Linked DNA regions of Homo sapiens: regions 2, 3 and 4 are each linked to region 1. Evidence: promoter capture Hi-C in 16 types of primary human blood cells and fetal thymus (Javierre and others, 2016). All regions are on one chromosome and are shown on one strand. The core of a region is centred on a gene start or on the middle of the fragment in contact, and the rest is flanking DNA. Distances in the headings are between cores, read along the strand shown. Region 1 holds the start of KGD4 (alpha-ketoglutarate dehydrogenase subunit 4). Region 2 holds the start of SGTB (small glutamine rich tetratricopeptide repeat co-chaperone beta). Region 3 holds the start of ERBIN (erbb2 interacting protein). Region 4 holds the start of SREK1 (splicing regulatory glutamic acid and lysine rich protein 1).

The links. Contacts are between HindIII fragments. The CHiCAGO score rates a contact against its expected background, and 5 or more counts as called.
Region 2: the fragment with the promoter of SGTB here is called in contact with the fragment with the promoter of KGD4 in region 1 in 6 of 17 cell types (naive CD8 T cells, activated CD4 T cells, total CD4 T cells and 3 more); the score reaches 15.9 in naive CD8 T cells.
Region 3: the fragment with the promoter of ERBIN here is called in contact with the fragment with the promoter of KGD4 in region 1 in 1 of 17 cell types (non-activated CD4 T cells); the score reaches 6.2 in non-activated CD4 T cells.
Region 4: a contact is called between the fragment with the promoter of SREK1 here and the fragment with the promoter of KGD4 in region 1, in 1 of 17 cell types (activated CD4 T cells). The highest score is 5.6, in activated CD4 T cells.

The regions. Positions count from the first base shown.
Region 1 is chr5:69,213,940-69,220,320 of GRCh38, reverse strand. It overlaps KGD4 (alpha-ketoglutarate dehydrogenase subunit 4), which reads right to left and starts at 2,561. Exons shown (of 4, transcript NM_033281.6): 1 at 2,450-2,561. The coding sequence starts at 2,491. RefSeq lists enhancers at 1-336, 1,985-2,279. The HindIII fragment of the contact is 5,941 bases long and covers 1-3,507 here.
Region 2 is chr5:65,717,717-65,724,097 of GRCh38, reverse strand. It overlaps SGTB (small glutamine rich tetratricopeptide repeat co-chaperone beta), which reads left to right and starts at 1,989. Exons shown (of 11, transcript NM_019072.3): 1 at 1,989-2,181; 2 at 3,269-3,390. The coding sequence starts at 3,291. NLN (neurolysin) reads right to left here and starts at 1,893. Exons shown (of 13, transcript NM_020726.5): 1 at 1,684-1,893. The coding sequence starts at 1,724. RefSeq lists enhancers at 629-708, 481-1,302 and silencers at 1,579-2,188, 2,259-2,308, 2,369-2,418, 4,463-4,659. The HindIII fragment of the contact is 2,154 bases long and covers 840-2,993 here.
Region 3 is chr5:65,924,028-65,930,408 of GRCh38, reverse strand. It overlaps ERBIN (erbb2 interacting protein), which reads right to left and starts at 3,834. Exons shown (of 26, transcript NM_001253697.2): 1 at 3,603-3,834. RefSeq lists enhancers at 3,681-3,900, 3,861-4,485, 5,391-5,610, 5,110-5,734 and a silencer at 3,981-5,070. The HindIII fragment of the contact is 7,086 bases long and covers 1,593-6,381 here.
Region 4 is chr5:66,140,825-66,147,205 of GRCh38, reverse strand. SREK1 (splicing regulatory glutamic acid and lysine rich protein 1) reads right to left here and starts at 2,906. Exons shown (of 12, transcript NM_001077199.3): 1 at 2,669-2,906. The coding sequence starts at 2,829. RefSeq lists enhancers at 2,166-2,215, 2,276-2,335, 2,596-2,875 and a silencer at 3,056-3,125. The HindIII fragment of the contact is 9,482 bases long and covers 2,039-6,381 here.

The DNA of each region.
Region 1 (6,381 bases), core at 1,312-3,811:
TTGTACCAATCAGTCTTTTGGCACTCTTCTCTTCCTTCAAGATATGGATCAACAACCAAATTCTAAGCTCTATGTTTTTTTGTTTTTTTTTTTTGAGTCAGGGTCTAGCTCTACTGTCCAGGCTGGAATGCAGTGGCATGATTATGGCTCACTGTAGCCTTGATCACCCAGGCTCAATCTTCCCACCTCAGCCTCCTGAGTAGCTGGGACCACAGGTGCACATCACCATGCTCAGCTAATTTTTTAAAATTTTTATAGAGATGGGGTCTTGCTATTTTGCCCAGGCTGGTCTTGAACTCCTGGGCTCAAGCCATCCTCCTGCCTCAAACTACCAAAGTGTTGGGATTACAGGCATACATCAGTGAGCCTGGCCTAAACTCTAACTGGCACTGTAGTCCTAGCTTTATAGGCCTGTCACAGAGATACTCAACAAATTTTGCTAATGTTATATGTAATTATTACATAATATTAGCACATACTTTATTATTTATTTTTCGAGACCAGGTCTTGCTCTGTTACACAGGCTGGGGTGCAGTGGGGTGATTGTGGTTCACTGCAGCGTCAAACTCCTAGGCTCAAGTGATATTATATTAGCATATTGGTTGTATTCTCTCTTTTTTTCTTTTTTTTTAAGAGCGCAATCACGAACCTGATTTGAATTCTAAATAGGTGAGTACAGGTCTTTGTTCCTATGTTAGAAGGGCACAGACCATTCCTTACTGTATATCTCACAGTTTCTTCATTTGTTTGCACACATCAGCTGTTAGTATTGCTTTGGACTGTACTATTTTAACAAACTACCACAATTTGTTTATGCAAAAGACAGACATAGAGATTGTTTGTGGTTTGGGGGCTATCAGAAATAGAGCCAGGGACCCCATGGCAGTATATATAGTACCTGCCTGCTGAGATGCCACACTCCTGCTGCCAGGCTGGAACCCCTCAGCTCTGGACCCCAGTTCTTTGCTAGTAACTCTTTTTTTTCTGTGAACATTTACGTACAGAGACAGTATGTGCATTCACTTCTCTTGGGCAATAAACCTATGAGTAGAATTGCTGGGTCATACGGTAGATACATGCTTAACTATTAGAGACTGACAGCTTTCCAAAGTGGCTATAACATTTTATATTCCCACCAGCAATATTGAGGGTTTCAGACGCTTCACATTCTCATCACCACTGACGTCTAAATTTTAGTCATTTTGGTGGATGTGTAGGACCTCATGGTTTTAATTTTTATTTTCCTGGCAAGTAATGATATTGAGCACCTTTTAAAATGTTCATTGCTCATTTGGGTATCTTTTGTGCAACACGCCAAGTCTTTTACCCATTTTTAAATTGTTATATATTATTGATACATATGGTTATATATTATGGATAACAGACCTTTGTCAGTCTCTCAGTCCTTACAGAATCTTTAACTAGTTGATGCTCAGTAACTACCTACTGAATAAGTAAGGATCATTCATTGCAATGGGACCAAAGACTGGGATCTAGGATTATCATTCAGACAACAATTTCAGGAATTTAGAAAAAGGTCTTTTAAGAGATGTACTTATATAAAGCGGAATGTACTTCTCATATCAAAGATAAAAGTCAATTATAAAATAATATAGTTTCAGGGTTCAAAGACTATGTAAACCAACCACAAAAGTGGAGGTTGTGTTCCACTTATATAATAATTTTACCTAAGTTAGAACCACAGCTGAAGAAACAAATAAAAAGGCTATCAGGAGTTAGTAGCTGATAGGTGGATTAACAAAGTTACTTTAGCTGTCTATCTAAACCAGGGGAAAATAGGCTTGTGAAACCAACGCTTATACACACACACACACACACACACACACACATTAATATACACACACACATACTAATTAAACTTAAGTTTACTTTTCTATTTCCCTCATCTGGCCTGTAGCCAGACGCTTGGAGAGGTTGGGGAGAACCCGCTCCGGCGAGGACGCAGTACGCGGGGCCAGTTGCCCGACCATTCCCGAGACCTTGAAGGGACAGTGGGTCAGATCCAGGGTTCGCTTCCTTCCACGCCCCGCTACCGCCTTCCTTCCGATTGGCTGATCGGGGGCACCACAGCCAATCCTAGACGGCGATTGGCCAGGCTACCGCCAGGGTCGCCTCACCCGCACACGCCTAAGACTAACAAGGTCCTGGCGGAGGAGCGGGGGATCCCGGCAGTAGGTACAGGACCTACCTGCCAAGATGCTGCACGGTTGCCGCAAGGCTCGAACCCTCGGCGCCGGACCCACCTCACTGCCCGGTCCAACAGGCTCAAAGTCCCATCCTCACACACACCCGCGGGCGCCGTCACTGGCCCTCCGCAGAGGCGCGGTCACCGCTCTGCCTCTGCCACCGCCTTTACTCCCCGACGCCGTCGCCATAGTCAGCACCGTCCCTACCGCCCAAGATGCGGAAACGCGACAAATTGCTTTACCTGAACGACCCTACTAGCAGACGCCATCTTGCTGCCCATCATGACCCCCGAGAAGGGGCAGTTTCCGGGGCGCGAGCGAGCCGCGGCGATCACTGGAGTCCCGGGCAGCTGTGGGCGGTGCTTCCCGGGACGTCACGGAGGCGGAGACCGGACTGGGCTCTCCTCCGCCGTGGGGCTGGCTCCGCCCCCTGTGCCTGACCCCGCCCACCCCTTCTCCCTACTAGGATCCACCCACGTGTGTTCTATTGTTTCGTTTTGGGGACAAAATTTTGTTAAGGTGGGTCTCTGCTCATTAGCCTATAAATTGTCTAGGACCATTTCCTTTCCAGAAAGCCAGTCTATAATTTCGATATAGTTCAAAATTTTATCTGGAACCAAATAAATAATACAACCTTCTTATCTGACAGCTCTTGCAAAGATTAAAAAAATTAAAGAAAAACAAAAAAAAAACCTTGCGGTTTCCTAAAATGAATAATTTCGTTAAAATGGGAGTTAGTGGCAAGCTCACAAGAGTTTACTCTGGCTTAAAAAGGGCCATGTCACACTCTCTTGCTGATTGGCATTGCTTGATTGTAATTTGTTTCTGTTTTCTTTACCGTTTATTACTCCTGATATCGAACTGCTGGGCCTTTGCTTCAAGTTGAGATAACTCAAAAATTCAGAAATATTTGAAATGTAAGCCACTCATATCTTTCCCCCAAAATTACATTACGGGCGGGGCGCTATGGCTCACGCCTGTAATGCCAGCACTTTGGGAGGCTGAGGCGGGCGGATCACTTGAGGTCAGGAGTTCGACACCAGACTGGCCAACATTGTAAAACCCTGTCTCTACTAAAAATACAAAAATTAGCCGGGCGTGGTGGCGGGCGCCTGTAGTCCCAGCTACTCAGGAGGTGAGGCAGGAGAATTGCTTGAACCCAGAAGGCAGAGGTTGCAGTAAGCCGAGAGTGTGCCACTGCACTCCGGCCTGAGCGACAGAGGGAGACTCCGTCTCAAAAAAAAAAAAAGTTACATTACGTTCTGTGATAATGCTTAGGTTATATATAGTATTGTAAGCTTGACCAATGTGTTTGATGATATACATCAGTGATTTCTAAGTCTTGGGATCTTTTTAGAAATATAAATTACTGAACCCAGGTATGGTCTATTGGGATTCAGTGACTACAGAGAGGCCATTAACCCGTTTTGTTTTGTTTTGTTTTTGTGGTTTTTTTTTTTTTTTTTGAGACGGAGTCTCGCTCTGTTGCCCAGCCTGGAGTGCTGTGGCGTGATCTCAGGTCACTGCAACCTTTGCCTCCTGGATTCAAGCAATTCTCCAGCCTCAGCCTCCCCAGTAGCTGGGATTACAGACGCCCGCCACCACGCCTGGCTAATTTTTGTATTTTTGGTAGAGACAGAGTTTCACCATATTGGCCAGACTAATCTCCAACTCCTGGCCTCAAGTGATCCACCCACCTCAGCCTCCCTAAGTGCTGGTATTACAGGCGTGAGCCACTGCGCCTGGCCCCATTTTAATTATTTTCAAATGTGCAGTTCAGTCACATTAAGTACATTCACATTGTTGGGCAATTGTTACCATCTTCAGAAACTGTACCCATTAAACAAAAACTTATTCCTCCTTCCCTCAGCCTCTGACAACTATCATTTTACTTTCTGTCTATGAATTTGACTACTGTGGGTACTTAATGTACGTGGAGCCATAACAGTATTTGTCCTTTTGTAATTAGCTTGTTTCACTTAGCATGTCTTCAGAGTTCATTCATGTTGTAGAATGTGTCAGAATTTCTTTTTTAAGGCTGAAAAAATCCCATTATATGTGTATACCACATTTTGCTTATCCATTCATCTGTGGTAATTCTTTTTTTTTTTGAGACAGAGTCTTGCTCTGTCACCCAGGCTGGAGTGCAGTGGTGCCAACTCGGCTCACTGCAAGCTCCGCCTCCCTGGTTCACACCATTCTCCCACCTCAGCCTCCCAGGTAGCTGGGACTACAGGCACCCGCCACCACACCAGGCTAATTTTTTTTGTATTTTTAGTAGAGACAGGGTTTCACTGTGTTAGCCAGGATAGTCTCCATCTCCTGACCTCGTGATCTGCCCGCCTCAGCCTCCCAAAGTGCTGGGATTACAGGTGTGAGCCACCGTGCCCAGCCGATAATTTTTTTTTTTTTTTGAGACAGAGTCTCGCTGTGACACCCAGGCTGGATGCAGTGGCATGATCTCAGCTCAATGCAACCTCTGCCTCCTGGGTTCAACTGATTCTCCTGCCTCATCCTCCTGAGTGGCTGGGATTACAGGTGCCCACCACCACGCCCAGCTAATTTTTGTATTTTTAGTAGAGACAGGGTTTCTCCGTGTTGGCCAGAATGATCTCAAACTCCTGACCTCAGGTGATCCGCCCACCTTGGCCTCCCAAAGTGCTGGGATTACAGGTGTGAGCCACCGCACCTGGCCCAGTTCAATGCTTTTTAGAAAATTTTCATTTGAGACTCCTTTGACCTATGCCTCATTTAAAAGTGTGTTCAGTTTCCAAGTATTTGGAAATTTTCCTGTTATCTGACTGTTACTGATTCCTCATTTGATTCCCTTGTAGTCAGAACACAGTCTGTATAATTTCAATTCTTTTATATTTGTTGATATTTTGTCATCCAGGATATGGTCTATGTTGTTTATGTTCTGTAAGCACTTGAAAAGAGTGTTCTGCTGTTGTTTGGTGGAGTATTCTATAAATGTTGATTAGCTCCTCTGTTAGTCCATGTGTGCTACTGTAACAAAATACCTTAGTATGGGTAATTTATAACCACAGAAATTTATTTCTCATGTTCAGGAGGCTCAAAAGTCTAAGATCAAAGTACCAGCAGTTTCGGTGTTTTGTGAGGGCTCAGTCTTTTCTTCCAAGATGGTGCTTTGAACACTGCTTCATCCGAGGGGTTTAACACTGTGTGCTCACATGGCAGAAGGGCAGAAGAGAAGGAACCCATTCCCTCAAACTTTTTTTTTTTTTTTTTTTGAGACAGTCTTGTTCTGTCACCCAGGCTGGAGTGCAGTGGCACAATCTCGGCTCACTGCAACCTCCATCTCCTGGGTTCAAGCGATTCTCCTGTTGCAGCCTCCCAAGTAGCTGGGATTACAGGCGCCCTCTACCACACCCAGCTAATTTTTGTATTTTTAGTAGAGATGGGGTTTTGCCATGTTGGACAGGCTGGCTTTGAACTCCTGACCTCAGGTGATCGGCCCACTTTGGCCGCCCAAAATGCTGGGATTACAGGTGTGAGCCATTGTGCCTGGCCCTCAAACCTTTTTTTAAGGGCCTTAATCTCATCCATGATGGTTCTGTACTCATGATTTAATCATTTCCAATACCTTTTCGTATTGTCACATTAGCAATTTTCAATAGATGAATTTTGAAGGACACAGTCAGACCATAGCTTACCGCCTTTGGCCCCCCAAATTTATGTCCTACTCACATGCAAAATACATTTATCGGACGCTTGTTGCTCACACCTGTAATCCCAGCACTTTGGGAGGCTGAGGCAGACGGATCACTTGAGGTCACGAATTCCAGGCCAGCCTGGCCAACACGGTGAAACCCTGTCTCTACTAAAAATAAAAAAAATTAGCTGAGCGTGGTGGTGTATGCCTATAATCCCAGCTACTTGGAAGCCGAGGCATGAGAATTGCTTGAACCTGGGAGGCGGAAGTTGTTCACAGTGAGCCAAGATCGTACCACTGCACTTCAGCCTGGGGGACAAAGGGAAACACTGTCTCAAAAGACAAACAAAAAAAACCCAAAAATACATTTATCCATCCCAGTAGCCCCAAAAGTCTCAACTCATTCCAGCACCAACTCAAAACTATAAAGTCCAGAGTCTCACCTAAATCAGATATGGATGAGACTCAAGGCCATGACTCATCCTGAGGCAACTTCTCCTG
Region 2 (6,381 bases), core at 740-3,239, 3.5 Mb after region 1:
AACCCCACAATGTTAATCTTCTCACTGATTGGGGGGCGGGGGGGTTGGTTTGGAAAATAGTTATTTTTCATTAAAATCACTATTTATGCACCTAGCCTATTTATTAGTTTTGTAAATTAACAACTACTTTAATTTTTTTCCAGCTTTAATGTCTAATATGGTAAATATAGACAGATATACCACACAAACAGAAGCTCTTAGGTCCACGGTAATTTTTGAAAGGTAAAGGGGTCCTGAGAATAAAAAGTTTGAGAATTGTTCTTTTTTTTTTTTTTTTTTTTTTGAGACGGAGTCTTGCTCTGTCGCCCAGGCTAGAGTACAGTGGTGCGATCTCGGCTCACTGCAAGCTTCGCCTCCCGGGTTCATGCCATTCTCCTGCCTCAGCCTCCCGAGTAGCTGGGACTACAGGCGCCCGCCACCACGCCCGGCTAATTTTTTGTATTTTTTAGTAGAGACGGGGTTTCACCGTGTTAGCCAGGATGGTCTCGATCTCCTGACCTCGTGATCCACCCGCCTCGGCCTCCCAAAGTGCTGGGATTACAGGCATGAGCCACAGCGCCCGGCCGAGAATTGCTCTTATATGAAGATTTATTCCCTCCTCTCACCCCTGCATTATGTGAAGTCTTCATTTCTTGGTATAACTTCATTTGACAGCTATATCGATTGCAGCCTGGAGACTAGCAAAAAACGACAGGCTGAAATATGGTCACCAATCACCACATTAACTCTTTGTAATTAACCACTGTCGCCTGCCTGCTCCCTAACTCTACGGACTGAGCAACACAAAGCTCCATCCACACAGACGAGTGGCAATGTGCAAAAGGGAACTGTAGAAAGCTTAAATGCTGACATGTTACAAAGTAGTTTTGTTGATAGCTAGCAAGAAGCACACATTTTCTTTATTCTGTTGAATCTTCATTTGGATTTACAGTTCTGGGCAGATTTGGAAACGGGGATGGTGGCGGCATTGTTTCCGAAAACCAGCGCATCCGTGCAAAGAATTTAATTCCCTCACCATCTTGCTACTGGTCTGTTGCAGTGGGGTGTGGTTAGAGGGCTAGGAAGCAATCCAAAACAGCAGCTCAGGCTGCCCAAAGCCGTGTCCAAGCGATCATTTTCTCCATTTTGGGCCAAGTCAATTTGCACCGGCAAGAGGCAGAATGTTTGTTTTATGGGGAGGAGGAAAATAAAAAAGGAAGTCAGAGAGCATGGACGGAAACAAGCAACACCACCAAAGAGGTTTCATCTCGGGTGGATGTTAAACGATTGGAATGCTAATAATGGGCGCGAGGAGCAAACACAATTGTTCTGAGTCCACAGCTGCGGCACTTTTAATGACAGGTCTGTAGTTCTGCATTGGGATTGAACGTGAAATGATTTTCTTATCCAAACTATTTGCATTCATTTTGGGCCGCGTCTGTGACCAGCCTCGCTGACTGCGGCTGAGGCAGTCCCAAACAAAGAGGAATGGACGTCCTCCCGAGGGAGCGGAGGCGGGAAAGGTGGCCCCAGGTGGCCGCGCCAGGTGTCCCCCAGGGGTCCACCTTGCAAGCCGCGGGGAGGGTGCGTCCCGGGAGCGTCGGAGAGGCGCGGTCGGGAAGGGGTGGGTCCGGGCTCCAGGCACCACACGGCGAAAGACCCCGCCCTGCCCACGGCCAAGGTTAACCCGCGCGCTGGAGGTACCTGCGGAGGCTTCGCACAGCCAAAAGGCACCGGGCGATCATGGGAGCGCTGAGAGGCTGGCGGCGGCGGGCGCGTGGTCCTTCGGCGTGGGGCGGCGAGGCGGGCGGCAGCGCCTGGGCGCCCGGGAGTCTCGAGCCGGCCTAGCCGCAGAGGCCACAGTGGCTGCCTGGCCAGCGCCCTCCCACGTGCGGCAGCTCCACGCCGGCGCCTACCAGCCCCGCCCCGCGCCGTGCCCCGCCCCAGCTCGCGTGTCTGGCCCCGCCCCAGCCCTCGCGTCCGGCCCCGCCCCAGGGGCGGTGCTGGCCAGACCCTGCCGCCTGAGAGAGAGCACAGCCTGGTGGGTTCTGGGGTCTACGGCCTAGGGGCCGGGGAAGTTTGCGCCGCCGCGACCAGTGCTGCGATCCCGAGCCGGGCTCCAGCCCCGAGGACCAGGGGTCGGGCGGGCCTGCCTACGGAACCCCGCGGGCCAGCAGCAGTCGTCTCGCGTCCTCCTGCTTGGTAAGGGGCTTCTGTCTGGCAAGGGTGCGCCTCCCGCCGCTCCGGACCGGGGCCCGCACCGGCACCCGCTGCACACCGGGCAGGGCCGAGGCGAGGCCGGGTACCTGAGGGAGGACGGAAGGGAGGGGGAGCTCGATGCGCTCTGGGGAGAGGAAGGGGGAGAAGCCTATTTCCCTCTTCTCACCCCTTTTCCCCCCATTCTGTTTTTACCTTCTGCCCTGGGGCCTTATTTAGTGCTTATGACCCCGTGGCCTAGAGGCTGACATCGCCTTTAAAATAACTACACAAATAATAAACATTATAGCGGCGGGTACCACACCCTGGCTTTGAATTAGGGAACCTGGGGAGCAGATGGATGATGCGATTTGGTGGAAATCAGCCATGAATGCCGCCTGGCCCTGCGCCACTGTTTGGATGCGATAGTATTCCATGTGAATGAACATGACCGGGAGCTTCCAGCTTGTCCACGAGAGCACAGCCTCTGCAGGGAGCGCCGGTCGGCTTGTAGTATCCATCGACTTGGGCAGCGATTTCCTGACATGTCTGCTGATTAAATAGAAATGCCATTTTTATTAAGAACGACACTCACCACTTGAATAACCTTTCGCGAATGTGTTTCCTCATCAAATAACTCTCAACCTACAAAAGTGGGTAGAGTGTACATTATTAATACTTTTTTTAGATCCCATGAAAAAGAGGAAGATGCTTGGTATACATCAGCTTTTAGTCAGCAGTATGAAATGCCTCTTAACTTAGTACTGAGGCCTTTAGGGGATTTCTGTATGGTGAGATATGCAGTGACAGTCTAAGCTTATGCTGTACATGTTTTGAAGACATTTTTACTTATTCCAAGATTTAACATACTCGTATACCACTGGGTATTAATGAAAATATGTAATAAATTACCTTCACAATACTTTGTGCTCTCCTGACTCTTTACAAAGAGAAAAGATGAAAGGTCATACAGTTTTGTGTTTTGTTTTTACCTTTAATACACTTTATAACCCATATCATCTTTGTAATTTATGACTTTCCTGACTGATTCTTTAAAATAACTTAGTTCAGTGTTTTCATTTTTCTTATCAAGGAAAAGTGTTTAAGCTTCTAAAATGTCATCTATCAAGCACCTGGTTTATGCAGTTATTCGTTTCTTACGGGAACAAAGTCAGATGGACACTTACACCTCGGATGAACAAGAAAGTTTGGAAGGTATGCATCTGCTCTTTGTGTTCATTTATATTATAATTATAAACGAAGACTAAAATAGCTGTAAGCCCAACTTGATGATCTATTGTAACATAATCAGAATTTTTTTTGATCTTTCAAGAGGAGAGGCCTGACTATAAGGTTATCGTATTTCCATTTTCTGAAGCTTGTTTTGTTTGTTTTAACAACAAATTAAGAGGACTATTGTTCATTTATTGAACAAATACTATATGTCAGAAGTATGCTGTTCATATTATAGGCAATTTTTTCTTCACAGCAACTGTTATGTTAGTATTATCCCCATTTAACAAGTGAGAAAATAAAACCAGGGCCAGGCTTGGTGGCTCATGCCTGTAATCCCAGCACTTTGGGAGGCCGAGGCAGGTAGGTCATTTGAGGTCAGGAGTTCAAGACCAGGCTGGGCAACATGGCAAAACCCTGTCTCTACTAAAAATACAAAAAGTAGCCAGGTGTGGTGGCACTTGCCTGTAGTCCCAGCTACTCAGGAGGCTGAGATAGGAGGGTGGCTTAAACCCAGGAGGTGGAGGTTGCAGTGAGCTGAGATCACACCACTGCACTCCAGCCTGGGCCATGAGCGAGACCCTATCTCAAAAAAAAAAAAAAAAAAAGAAAAAGAAAATGAAACCAAATAGCGTAAGCAGATAACACAGCTGATATGTGATAAAGCTGAGATTTAAATCCTGGTTAATACTCTGAAGATCTTGTTGTCTCCATTTCCTAATAGGAAAGCATCCAGTTTAGAAATAATATATAAAAATACCTGAGTCATTTTAATAGCACTATGTAAAAGTCTAATAATTATACCACTAGTGAGATCTGACCAGTGCCTAATTTGGAACTTGAAATGGGAGCATTTCACCTGTGTTTTACGTTAACTTTAATATTGGATTCGGTAATCTGTAAAGTTGAACAGGATGTGGGTGATAGCATCATGTGTTTCCTCGACACCGTCTTTGTTCTTCATGTTTATGTGTTATAAAATTTAAATTCAGTACAACCATAACAAGGTAGAATTCTGCAGATGGGCTTGTGGAGGTTCAGTGAATCTGGTGTCCCTGTGGCCTAAAGTCTTTTATTTATTTATTTATTTTTTGAGACAGGGTCTGTCTGGCTCTGTCACCCAGGCTGGAGTGTAGTGGCACAATCTCGGCTCACTGCAACCTCCACCTCCTGGGCTCAATTGATCCTCCCACCTCGGCCTCCTGAGTAGCTGGGACTACAGGAGTACACTACCACACCCGGCTAAGTTTTGTATTTTTTTTTGTAGAGACAGAGTTTCGCCATGTTGCCCAGGCTGTTCTCAAACTCCTGGGCTCAAGTGATCCACTCGCCTTGGCCTCCCAAAGTACTGAGATTACAGGCATGAGCCACCCCTCCCAGCCCCAAAGTCTTAATTATTGCAGTGAGAGTGCATTTGGAAGAACTTAATAAATGACAGTATAGTTATAAATCCCATCTTGAAACTGCTTCTATAATTTCAACAAGCATTTCCCTGTGAATATGCTTTTAGGAGGTGGAGATGAAAATTGGGCATTTGCTCTAAACCTCCTTGCAGTCTGGTTAGTTGATGTCTTTCCAGGTGGCAGTGAGAGGAGCAGGTGATGCACAGTTGGAGAACATTGCAATCAGTCCATTTAATATTAAGGTCTTTTTGTTCTCCTTGATGATTAGACTATGTGAAAATAAAGTTGATTGGTTATCTAAGGAGAATGTTAGTTATGATTGCTCTGTAGCAAACAGATAAATGCAGTCATTTAAGAAAAGATGTTTCTTTTCTAATCAAAAGCAGCATAAAAGTTTTAAGGGCCAGAAAGAAAATTGAGGGTTTTTTTTTCAAACCAAGATGTTATGTCCTATTTTTAGGATGGTATTCAGCCAAAAATATGTGCCTTCAGCTGTTTGTTATATATGGCAGTCAGAAAGGGTGCCAATTGTTTTTGACTGACCCCTATTTTTGACTCTGTGAGTCTAATTTAATTGAACATGAAATCATGTGGAGGTGTCTGCCCACCTTCTAGACATTTTTAAAAGCCCTAGGAAAGAAGCCTCAGTTCTAATACCAGCTTTACCACTACTGTGAAGCTGGTATATCATCAGCTTTGTCTTGCCATCAGATTATGTCACCCACTCCTCTTAATTATTGTCATCTACTGACATTTGCTTCATTCCTTGACTAATTGTGGTTCCTGCTCACTGTCACTCTCTCTAGCACTACTCCTATTTAGTTCTTGGCAATTGCAATATACTGATTGATGATTATTTTAGTTCCCTGGCTCTCAGTTATTGACCTCATCCAGTGATCTCAAACACTTGATCATATTCTAGATCAGTGGTTCTCAACTTGGGGGTGATTTTGCAATATCTGGATACATTCTGATTGTCACAACTGGGTGAGGCGGGTGGCTGGTATTATTGGCATCTAGTGAGTAGGTAGAGGCCATGGATGCTGCTAATGCACAGGACAGCCCCTGACAAGAAGAAATTACCTGATCCAAAATGTCAGTATGCGGAGATTGAGAAAGCCTTCCCTAGACTTAATCATTACCAGAATTGCATTCCTTCCCTAATCTCTATCCCAAACATTTCACTTCCTGACCACTATTGCCTGTCTTTCCAAGATTACTCCCTCTAGAATCCCTACTCCAGCTATTCTTTGACCCAACCAGTACCTCCAATCTGTTCATGCCTCACCTTTCCCCACACCTCTTCTTACTCATCTTAAATTCCATGGTTGATAATTATAATTATTCCCTTGTATCTCCTTCCCTTTCTTGCAAAGCCCAACTTTGTTTAAATCCAACTCTCCACCTACTTTGTGCCCAACTACTCACACCCACTCATGTAGCCGTAAATAAATGGAGCAAAACACACAACTTTGCTGACTAGTCCCACTTTAAATTCATGACTGTGAACTTCAAGTAGACCTTTAATGCTGTCAGGCAATCACAGTATCTGTTCTAAGTTCATTCATAC
Region 3 (6,381 bases), core at 2,585-5,084, 3.3 Mb after region 1:
GTGAACCTGGGGGAGGCGCAGCTTGCAGTGGGCCAAAATCTTGCCACTGCACTCCAGCCTGGGCGACAGAGCAAGACTCCATCTCAAAATAAACAAAGCAATATACTGATGAATATAAAGTTAAAATACCAGCATGTACACTTAGTTGAAATGCAAAGGGGATATTCAGAATTAAATGGGCTAATAAAATAAGATCAGATAAACTTTTTCCACTGCATGTTTTGAACAGTTTTTTGAGGTGATAAACATAGACTAACAGTTTGGAAAAGAGGGAAATGGCAAAATATAATTAAGAACGACCAACTGAACACAGAGAAAATAAGGCTAGGTAAATGAAGCTAACTATAAATATAGGAAGCTAAGGGAATCAGAAGAGAAAGCTGAATAGCAGCTAAGTTTCTTTTTTACAATTAGGAAACCTAAGAAGAGACAGCTAAAAAGTGAATCTGAAAAATGGGAGTTAGCAGTAGGCCGGGCTCAGTGGCTCACACCTGTAATCCCAGCACTTCGGTAGGCCAAGGTGGGCAGATCACCTGAGGTCGGGAGTTCGAGACCAGCCTGGCCAACATGGCAAAACCTGTCTCTACTAAAAATACAAAAATTAGCTAGGCATGATGATGTGCGCTTGTAATCCCAGCTACTTGGGAGGCTGAAGCAGGAGAATCGCTGGAACCCGGGAGGTGGAGGTTGTGGTGAGTCGAGATTGTGCCACTGCACTCCAGCCTAGGCAACAGAGCAAGACTCCATCTCGAAAAAAAAAAAAAAAAAAAAGAGGAAAAGACAAAGACATCTTTAGAGGTTTATAATAGAGATGTATTCCCAGAAAAAGAAAACGGAAGCAAGCATGTAACAAATTCAAGAAATGAATGAGCAAGGCAAAGAGTCAAAATGCAAGCAGCCAAGTAGGGTATGTAAGGAGAATCTGGATAAGCAGCAATTACGAAAAATAAAAAAGAAACTGCTACCCAGCATCACTAAAATTCTGCATAATCCCAAATACTCTGTAAGTACTGCCATAATCTATTTCCAAAACAAAAGCAGCTTAAAGTCTAAATCGTATTATCCGTAAGCAATTATTTCAAATAAGTAATTTTGAAATATACACCTATTTTCTGAAACTTTTAACTATTTCTTAAAGGGTATTATTTACTACTAATAGTGCAATACCAACAATGTGTAAAATAATCGATTTTTGAGATTTGCCAATGATATATGTTAATGTATCTATAGTTATCACTTCATTAAGAAACAGCATACAATAAAAATTTGGTTTCCATGTTTGTACCTCTGTAAGCTTTTTATACATAAAGTTTACAATAGTTTGATCTCAAATGGCAAGGAGACCTCGTAACAGTACTACTTGAATCAGTTGAAGTCCTGAAAATTCATGATTACCTTCAATAAACAGAGCCTTTAAGTGTGTATTTTGTGCAATATAGACTTTGGAAGTACTCTCTATTTGCCAATTTAATCTTTGAAAATCCACACCATACTAGAAGAATATCCAAATTTTGAAGCCATTTAAAAATATTTTAACGGATGACTCCTCTATTAACCTCTTTTCAAACCTTTGTCACAGTTTAAACAAAGCTTCGAAAATACTTATAGTTTCACAATAGTATAAAACCTAAAATTTAAGTTAATTCGGTGATAAACTAACAGAATTCCAAGAAAACTACGAAGTAAATTATGCCTTGTTGAGGAGAAAAAAAAGAAACACAAAGGTGAACACCTCACTTCATAAAACGTGTTGTCTGCATCGAAACATACTACTCTTCTCCTGAGAAAAAAAATCAAGAACTAAATCTAAAAATAGAGGCTTAAATAGTCATTTTCAAGTGCTACAATACTTTTTTTATACAAAATTTACTAATAAATAACCATCTTCATAAAGCGATAATTCTCTGTAAGGGACTTGCTCTATTAAGGTTTTGTTGCTTTTGAAGCCAAGTATAAGCCATATAAGGAAACTGAAGTTCAATGCCATTTATTTTGTTCACCTCTTTCAGATGCCCAAGAATAACCTCTTTTGCAGCCTAATGATACGTTCCAAAATCATAAAGTAGATGAGTTATGCACTTTAAATTCTTTGATAAAGCTAGTTTGACTTAACAAGAATTATTCCATGGTTCACAAATCTTACCAACAATGAAAAAAAAAAAGAATCTCCTGAGACCATGCCCCGGGGAGGAAAAAAAAAATCAAAACTACAGTAATAAATAAAGGACTGCCTTTGGAGATGTACTTAATGAAGCTGAAGTAGCAAAGAACAAATTGTGAAATAATTTGATCCTGATCTTTAAAACTTATTTTTTCTCTTTGAACTAAAGAAAATCAACTCTCTCCTCGGGTTTCCGGTCATTACGTGAGACAGCATAGGCAATCTAAACATCAATATATATTTAGGATATACCTACCAACAGGATTACCAAATTTATTCAATATATATTCAAAAGTACAGTATTGTATTTCACCTCCCTGTACCGCAAAAATACCGGGAAAAAAAGTAAACAGAAAAAGACTAAAACACCACTGAAAAAAACTTTGGGTTTACTGCTATCAAAACTAGTCCCCATTGGTTCAGAAGTGTTCATAGCTCTGACTGGTGGAATGTCTGCCATGCTTCATGAATCCTGCCCCCACAGATGTAGGCAGAACCTATCACTATTTATGCAGAACCGACCAAAAACATTTGGGACAACACAAAAATGTAAAGACCATACTACTCGAAAAGCACAGCTTTTTATCACAATCACTGTGATTCCCTTGAAAATCGTTTTAAGCGTTTTACTTCCCCTCCCATCGTCTGTTCTGAACTGTACAGAAGTCCTATTAAACGTCTTACAGGTTGTTAATGTTGTTTAATTATCTCTCCCTATTCTTAGTCCTTACTCCTTTTTTCTTCGTAATGGATCAGTTACAAGAAAAGCCTAGTCGATCCTTGCTTTCAATTAATTAAACAAGTTATACGGCGCTAAACGTCTGAAAAACACACACTACACACAACTAAAGAAATATATTACTCACCCTGAAAAACAACTAAGAATGGCAAGATTTTTTGGTTTCTAAAATCTAACTAAATATACTGATCAGGGTTGGAAATAAAAAAATAAAAATAAATACCTCTATATACAATTAACGCAAGCGCCAATATAATCGGTATGAGTATAAACAAACGCGGCAGCCATCTCAATAACAGCAAATCACTCACTGCAGCGACCAAACTTTCTTCCCAAACAGAAGGTGCCTGGCTGAGCAACTTAATATACACTCTATACGTTCCAGAAAGCCAAAACTTCTGGCCCCTGTGCTGAACAAAGGCAATCGTTCTTCGGATTACTAAAAACTTTTCGTCCCACCGCATTCTTACAACCTCTTCCAAAAAATTCAAAGTCCAGATGGTGGGGGGGGCAGGGGGGAGAAGGGACGCGGTGGGGTGCAGTTCGATTATTTAGCCCCTCAATTATTAACCGCTTCGATATGAGAAAAGGAGGGTTTAGGGCAACTTGGAGAAGAGTGAAAAACACTAAAGAATCATCTCTTTTCCGAGTCACAAAGTCCCATGAACTTTGTGACTCAGAGACACTTTTCGTGAAAATTACCTTTCGGCGGGACACCGTCTCAGGGCAGCTTTTTCAAGGCTTCGCTTGACATGATTTCCTTCCCTTCATCAGTCACTTTGGATCCAGCTGAATATCTCTCTCGGGTGAGAGCGGATGTGGACTGGCCTCCCACAGAAGAAGAGTAGGTGGCTTTGGTGGGGGTTGGGGTGCGGGCTGGCTTCCTGGTCTCGAGTTTTGCAGGAGTTTCCCAGCCCCAACGAGGATCTCCGCCGAAAAAAAAAAAAACAAAACTTTTCACTCGTGACACCGCCCGGAATTGCAGTGCGAAACTCACTTCCTGCCTTGGCGAGAAGCAGGATCCAGCTCCGTCCAGGGGAACCCGGAAAACCAGCTCCGCGCGCACCGGAGAGGGGGAGGGGAGGGGACGGCCGCCGGGAGCCTCGGGTTCCGGGCAACCGGCGCGCCCGGCACACCGGACGGCAGCAGCACCCGGCCGGCGGGGGCGAGGACGCTGCCCGGGCGCTCGGCGAGCCTCGGCCGCGCTAGGCCGCCACCGCTTCCTCTCCGTTGCCCCCAGAGCCGGGCGGCAGGGTTATTGTCTCGATAGCGCTTGCCGCGCCCTTCGTCCGCGACGCCGCTGCCGCCGCCACCCGGAGCCGGAGCCGAGGAGTCGGGCAGGCTCAATAGCGGCCCCCTCCCCGGGCCGTCCGTCGGGCCGTCCGTCCTTCCGTCCGTCCCTCCCCGCTTTCCCTACTCGCCCTCGAACCCTCTTCTCCTCCCTCTCCCGTTTTCCCGCCACCGTCCCTCCGCTGCCCTGCTTGTTCTCCTTCGCCAGCGGCGGTGGCTCCCCGAGACGCGCAGGGGGCGGGAGCAGGAGGCAGCTCCGTCTCCTCACGAGCTTGCGGGGCCGCGGCAGGGGCCGAGACTGCGTCCCGCGCCGCCGCGCCACATTCACTCGAGCGAGAGACGGCGAGGGGAGGGAGGACGGAGGGAGCGGAGAGAAAGGAGGAGGAATGGGGCAGGGGCGGAGGGGAGTTACTGCCTCACAGGCCGCGGCGGCAACAGCGCCACCGCCCCGGCCGCGACGGGTGAAGAGGCTGCGCGCCGCGACTCTGCGGCGGGGGCGGGGGCGGGGCGGCCTCCCGCCGGCTTCGCCCCAACCGCCAACAGCCGGGCAGGAGGCCTGCGCGGGCCAGTCAGCGCGCGGGGGCGGTGCGGGCCGACGTCGGCGGCTGGGGGCAGCGGGCCGGGGGCCGGGGGAGGGGCAGCCGGCGGCCGTGGGTTCGCGTGCAAGGCGCGCCGTGAGGCCCACTCTGGCCCAGGCCCCTCGAGGCCTGCCCGCTGCTCCCTGCCCGCTCCCCGACCCCGCACTCCCGGACTCCCGAGCCCCCCAGGGTGGGGAACGCTGGCAACGCCGACCCTGCTGTCTGCTCGCGGCCCAGCGCCCAGCCAGAGAGATAGAGAGCCCACAGGCCTCCGCCGCGCCGGCCGATGGAGTTTCTTTGTACGACAGTAATCGGTGCACAGGGGTTGTTGGAGTCCAGCCCTGATTTGAAGGCAGCAGGTATCTCTTGCAGCTGCAGCACTCCAACTTCCTCTAATGGCACGGTCAGGTCGCAGGAAACCACAGCGGCAGCGCGGTGCAGCTTCCCACGCCCGCCCTTCGAGCTTGTTCCCCAGCGGCGCAGCTCAGCCTCCTCCAAGTCTCAGCCTCATACCGGCGGGGAGACAAAGCTGGCGCTGGGAGTGGGAAAAGGGCCCGCGAAATGGCCTCAAGATCGTGCCTTTGTTAGAAGAAACATGGGTACGCTCCGATGCGACGCAGGCTTCCAACCCCAGCGGTTCGGTGGTGGTGCAGTCGTTGAATTGCGCTGGCCCTAATAATTCAGCCTGGCAGGGTTCGCGTTTATTGCGGAGAGAGACTCTTAAGCATTCTGTCAACACATATGGCAAATAGAAAGCCTCAACCATAACATTGCACAGTTTTTGCAGTTCTTGCTTTAAATATGTTCACAGAAAAGACGGCCTTGTTTTACCCAGAGAAGGAGCGTAATGCGGAGCGAACCATTCGTCACCCCCATTCTCTGCTGCACTTAACTGTGTACAGTGATGATAATTAGCCTCTGGGTCCCTGAAGTCCCTGGTTCAGTTCTTCCGTCTGTATTCTAGAGATAATTATTTATTACCAAGTTTGAATAAAGAGCTATATCCCCTACAGACCTTTTTTTTTTTTTTTTTTTTGGCTTGCCAATGGAAAGAGTTCATAAATTCCACCAAGTAATCATTTACCAAAATGAGTTGTACATTAGTTGCAAACACTTGAAATAACGCCGAAGATATTCAAGTCATTTTATTCAGGTTGGGAGCATTTTTAACTACTTGAAGAACTGCTGGAATTAATACAGATGTTAGGTTATTTAGCATACAGCAGAAGTTGAAGATTTACAGGTAGTACTGAAGTGTTCAGATATATTCAGTGCTGAATTAGAGGTAAGAGTATTCGCTGGAAGCTAGGAAATGGCAGCAGCTATGCCAGTGTTACCAAGCTGGATATCTATGTGAAAATGAATCTTAACCATTGCATAAAAAGCTAAAGTTAGCATATTGTACAAGCTATTTGTAATCATCGCTGGGAAGATTTCTTGCTCCGTTTTCAAAAACCGTTTTGCGCCTGATCAGAACTCAGTGGCATAGCTCTGAACTGAAAGGGTCACTCTCCTAAAGCATCCCAGGATGGAATATCTCCCATACTAGTGGAAAACCAGCTAGATTCTGGGATTCCAGTGTTGCTTCTAATCTCAGGTTGATTCGAGACCCC
Region 4 (6,381 bases), core at 1,657-4,156, 3.1 Mb after region 1:
TGAATGTTCACAAGAATTCCCTAGCCTTAAAAAATTCTTAACGTTTAAAAGATAAAGATGAAACTCAACCACTGCATCATGCCAAAAGAATTAAATTTAAAATCTGAATTTTCATATTAGCAACTTAAGTCATTTAAGTCATTTTTTTTTAAGAGATAGGGGTCTCAATATGTTACTCAGGTTGGAATCAAACTCCTGGGCTCAAGCTGTTCTCCCACCTCAGCCTCCTGAGTAGCTAGGACTATAGGTGCACACCACCACACCTGGCTCAATCATAAAATTTTAATGAGAAACTATTTTCACATTCTATTAATGTATTTCCAATATACCTGGAAATATGTATTTGAAAATAAATATATTTCCAATTTTAAAACAATTTAAATTTCTACTCAACTCTAAAGATGTCATAAAATAATTTATGTGACACTGCAAAACAATATATTTTCAATACAACTACTACTATTGCATTTTGTATCCATTTCAGTCCAAATTTGCAAACACGTCTTCTAATATAAGGACCAGGCAATGACAACTTCATTACGAAGCAGAAAACCTGTGAATAAAGCATGTCAGTATTGCTGCAAAACATGAATGAGGGATCTAGTATTGCACTTAGGGAAAAACTAGTTAAGGATTTTGCCTGGCCTATATATATTACACGTATGCAACAATTTTGCTTAATGTGTTACAGTTTGTGAAATACACTACCGTAATCTTCCATATGTTTAAGTGAAGAACTTTTTATTCTCTTTGACTTTTAAATTCCAAGTAATAACATCTGATTTCAAAAAAGTGGCCCATTACTGTCAGTTATGGCAATGTGTTGTCACCCAAACCCAGGTTTCAACCAAATAAATATTATGTTGATAATGAAGAACATTCTCCAATATATTTCTTCTACCTATGAGATACCTTATTACCACAGCCTTGAAAGCAAGATTTACAAAGGTTCATGTACAAAGTATTTTACTGATTGATTCCAATGCCTGCAGGATACGGCACTCCCCCAAACAATTCTCAATTATTCTCAACTATTAAGAAATGTTCTGAGAACTTAAATTGAGATGGCTGAAAGCATTTCCAAAAGTTAAGATAATTAAAGCAATAATGCCACGGTTAATCAATCAAAATGTACGTGCGTGCACTTATGCAGTATTCTCGTCAAAAATGTATTACCTGAATCTCGTCACGAATATAAAGATATATATATACACATATCTCTATATACCTCATCTATATATCTCATCTATATAAACTCAGATTATGAGTCATATTACAAGACAAAATGAACTACAAAACAAAATATCAATGTCACGACTTTAGAATCTTTAAAAGGGGACGGGACTGTCCTAGATTAAAGGAGATAACTATTAATACATGGATTACTTGGCATATTCAAGGGAGACAGTGTTATCTAATTACATACTAGATCAAAAGCAGACAAAAAAGCATTATTAAAATAACTGGGGAAATTTTAATAATCAACTGTAGCCAAAAACAGACAAAATGCTCGTAAAAGGAACATGGATGTTCAATGTATTACTCTTTCAACTTTTCTGTATGCATGAAATATTCCAAAACAAAAAGCAGAGAAGAAAAACTTAAAAAGTAAATTTTAAATATCCACACAACTTTTATATAGTTATGCAACAGCACTGTTATAACCTGAGATAGAAAACTAAAGAAAAATAGGTCTAAATGCATCACTAGGAAATAAATCAAAATTTTTTTAAAGAAATAAATCTTGGGTAACAATTACCCCTTCCCTCAAAGGATTTTGATATAATGAACAAAAAACGGAGGATCTTAATACTGTAAGATCTACCATTAAAAAAGAAAAAAAGTTTGTGTGCAAGAATGTGAACAACCTACAAACCCCTTGCGAGTTTTCTAAATAATATCGTACGAGGGAAATTTTACCATTCCAAAATACACTATCTGGGAAGTGGCCGCGAGCTGTGAATGCCAGCCAAGATCTGGACTTTAAATGTATACGGGAGGGATAACCCTGCACCGACTTACACTTTTTCTGAAAGCTTTGGGACAGTGTGACCTTTCAGGAGGAAAATTTAATCTGCTGTCAAAAGGGCTAACAGACATGATCTTTGGGAACATGGATGCGCTCGGTTAGATAAACCAAAATGCTAAGTTTGTGCGACCGTCCTGGGAAACAAACACAGCCCCAGTTCCATCTTGTCACCAGCAGCAGGCTTTCTCGTCAGCAAAACGGCCTGACACCAAGGCCTTAAAAACTGGACTGTGGCTCAGGCGCGGTCTCCGCGATTTTCAGAGTGGAAAAACGCTCTGAGACGTTTGCCATGAGGGCTGTTCCGGGCCCACCTGCGGCCATCTTAAGTTCGGGGGGAAATAAGAGGGTGGGGGCACGGAATTCGAAGACCCAGCAGCGAACACAAGTCCCGGAGGCACAGAAAGGGCAACCATTCTAAATCCTTGGTAAGGGCTCCGTGCAGTAGTTAACCCCCCAAATCCGACTAAGGAGAGCAGGACGGCGGAACCCGGGTGCCCTAATCAAATATGGGCACCAAGGTAAGCCGGCGCGATCACGTGACATGCACCGCGCGCCCGCGTCCGCGCTCTCCTCCACGCCTCGGCTCCCGAGGTCTCTATGGCGCCCGCGCCCCTCCCCCAGCCGAGCTCCAGCACTTACTCCGGGGGGTAGAGCCGCAGCTCCTCGATTTCTCCTAGGAAGGAAAAAAGCGTCCGCATCTGCTCGCTGGTCACCGCCGACGACAGATTCGTCACCTGAATCACCGACGTGGGGGTGAGGCCGAAGCCTAAGCCCAAACCGAAGCCGCCGCCGCTGTTCATCCCGATCCCGCTGCCGTTGCCTTCCCGCTCCCCAACGTCTACGACGCGTCAGCGACGGAGCCGGGAAAGCGGAGAACGCGCGGCCGCGAGCGCGCTCCCGCTGGCGAATTCACAGCGCCGGGCAGATCTAGCCGCCCATTTCACAACTCCCCTGCTCCCGGGGCTGCGCGCGCCAGCCGGAAGCGTCGCCCCGGCAACCCGGCGGTTCTCGCGCGGCTGCGGCCTCCAGCTCCCGGGTCCCTGGGGCTGTTGCTGCTCGTTTCACCGCCTGGATTTTTATCGGTGTTTTTGTTTTCCCCAAAAGTCGATGAGAGTCTTGTGCTCATGTCTACCCGGTTCCTTCCGGTCTCGGATTGGGAAACCAAGCGGCCTGGCCTACTGGTGCGGGACTGTAAAGAAGGAATGACTCTTGGACAACACGGAAGAACACTTGACCAAACTATAGGGCAGCCTTATCACATACAGGCAGCACCCCAACTCCAACTATTTTTAAAAGTTGGCAGGCGTCCTAATTGTGAAAAAAACAAAATTTTACAAAATGCGTAGGTTCAGGTTGAATTAAGGAAAGAGGCAGTAAGATGAAGGCTGTGCAGGGGTTGTTTATAACCTGTTTTTAATTCCCTCGTTCCACAGGTGTTGATGTTTATTGAGTGCTATGTCCCAGGCACTATTAGGCAAGGGCACGTAACAGACAGTTAAAGACAGTTCACATAGAACTTGCAACCTAATGAGAGACAACAGTAGTGAGTCCATGGCAGCTGCTCCCAAAATGCCCTCCGCAGATCCCTAAGGGTACCGAGACCTTTTCAGTAAGTTGGCAAGGTCAAAACGATTTTCGTAATAATATTAAGAGTTTCTTGACCTTTTTCACTTTGTTGCCATTTGCACTGGTAACGTAAAAGATTAAACTGCTGACACCTTAGCAGCAATCAAGGCAGTGGCGCCAGTCTTGTACTGGTAGTTGCATTTTGTATTCTTCACATCATACAACATTTAAGGTTTTAAAGTATGCTAGTTTCACTTTAAAAATGTCCTTCACAAATAACTAAAAATTGTATTTTTTTTTCAAATCCATCCTTGCTTACACGTCTTTTAAAGAATATGTGTGAAAAAATGGAAACTACTGCCGCTACATGCCCAAGTGAAATGGTTGTCTCCGGAAAAAGCACTAGTGTAATTCTTTGAATTTTCACCTAAAAATACAAATTTTATTACACTTGTATCCACCAGCTTGAGCTTGACAGCTTGCCAGTACTTAAAGACTTTTCTAGTAAAAGAAGCATTATATTAACAATTTATTTTTGACTATATAATGAAATATGTCAACATTTTTGTGATCTTTACAACTTAGTGGACACCTATTTTTCAAATGGCCAGTGGGTGCCATTACAAAGGCAAAAAGCCTCTGGTATGTGCAAGATAGATTGATGGATTTCAGTGCTTAATTGATGTGGTTTCAGATTCAGTCCACACTGCAATGAAGGCTAAGAAACTACCACATGTAAGTTTGGTACCGTATCAAAGAATAATATCTAGAACTATCTGGAAAGGCTATAAAGTAGTTTTCCCTTTTCCAACACCTTATCTTTATGAGATCAGATTTCCCTCATATATTTCAACCAAAACATATCACAACAGATCGAATACACAGAAAACTCATGATCACAAAGAAGGAAACGTCAGTCACTGTGGTCTACTTGAGGGTGGAGGGTGGAAGGAGGGAGAGGAGCAGAAAAAATTATTGAGCACTGGGCTTAATACCTGGATGATGAAATAATCTGTACAACAAACCCCCATGACATGAATTTATCTATGTAACAAACCTTCACATGTACCCCTGGACCTACAATAAAAGTTGGAAAAAAATAAAGAATACATAGATAGGAGAATTCAGCTGTCTTCTATTAAAGCAGACATTAAAAAGGTTTGAAAAATGTAAAACAATGCCACTCTTCTCACCAATTTTTTGGAAAAATATTTTATCATAAAAATGCATCATTTTGCCTTCAATCTCGGTTTCTAAGAAAAAAATGCGTCATTTCTATTAACATAATGGGCTTATAATTATTTTTAAATGAATCTCAAAATACCAAATTTCTCAGGTTTAATTTATAATGTGGATAGTAATAAAAGCATTTTACAGTCCTTAATAATCTTTAAGAATGTAAAGGGACTCAAGACCAAAATGTTTGAGAATTATTATTACCATAGGTATAAGCATGGAGGAATTCAGAGCACACAGGAGGGCCTCTTAAACTTAGTTCTAATGGAATACTTCCCAGAAGAAATATTGCTTAAGCTGAATATTGAACAAATAGGAATTACCCAGGCAAGGAGGGAAGGAGGAGCAGTGAAGGGCATTCCAGACTGAGCATGTAGAATATGCAAAGGCAGGGTTAAGGTAAAAGAGAGCTCGAGTGAGGTACAGAAGATTCAAAGTCTGTTATTGCTGGGCTGAAAATGACTAGAGATGCATGCAAAGGAATAAGCCTTTATGAAGGGTATTATTTGTCATGGTAGAGATTACTTTATCATAAGCTGGGAGCCACTGAAGACCTCGGAGCTGAAGAGTGACCCTGATCAGATTCATGTTCTAAAATGACTGGCTATGTGCGGTGGCATATGCCTGTAATCCCAGGATTTGGGGAGACTAGGGCAGGAGGATTGCTTGAGCCCAGAAGTTTGAGACCAGCCTGGGCAACATGGAGAGACCCCGTTTCTACCAAACAATAACAACAAAAAAGTAGCCAGGCATGGTGGTGCATGCTTGTAGTCCCAGCTACTGGGGAGGCTGAGACGGGAGGACTGCTTGAGCCTGGGGGTTCGAGGCTACAGTGAAAATGAGTTGTGATTGTGCCACTGCACTCCAGCCTGAGTGACAGAGTAAGACCCTGTCTCAAAAAAGAAAGGAAGGAAGGAAGGAAAGAAAGAAAGTGATGACTGTCACTGCAACCTGGAGATACATTGGAAAGGGTTCAGACTAGAGGCAAAGAAACTGGGTAGGTTATTGCAATAATCTGAATAAGCTATAATGAGGTCATGAACAAAGGTAAGAGGTGGTAGTAATGGAAAGCAAGGAACAGCCCCAAATTTGAGAATCACTGAACTCATTTGAAGATAAAAGGAATAAAAGCTGTCCACTCAGAAAAATATATATGGACATAAACTCACTTTTAGCTACAATTACTGATGCTTTCTGGTCCTCCTGAAGTCCAACCATAGATCTCTCGGATTAACAACTAGTTTTGAACAATTCTCAGACTTTAGTGTGCATCAGAATCAGCCCGTGGGCATGTTACAACAAATTGCTGGTCCCATCCCCAGAGTTTCTAGTTCAATAAGTCTGGAGTGGGGCCTGAAATTTTAATTTCTAACAAGTTCCCAGGTGAGCTCCTTCTTGTGGTCTGCAAACCCCATGTTGAGAACCACTGGTTTAGAAGGTTGTAAAAGCAGTATTCTTAATGGACTTAATCTACTCTTAATAGTAAAGCAGAAGGAGGAGTTTAGATTTATGTCTTGGAGAATTAAGTAAACAGTGTCATAATTTAGGTC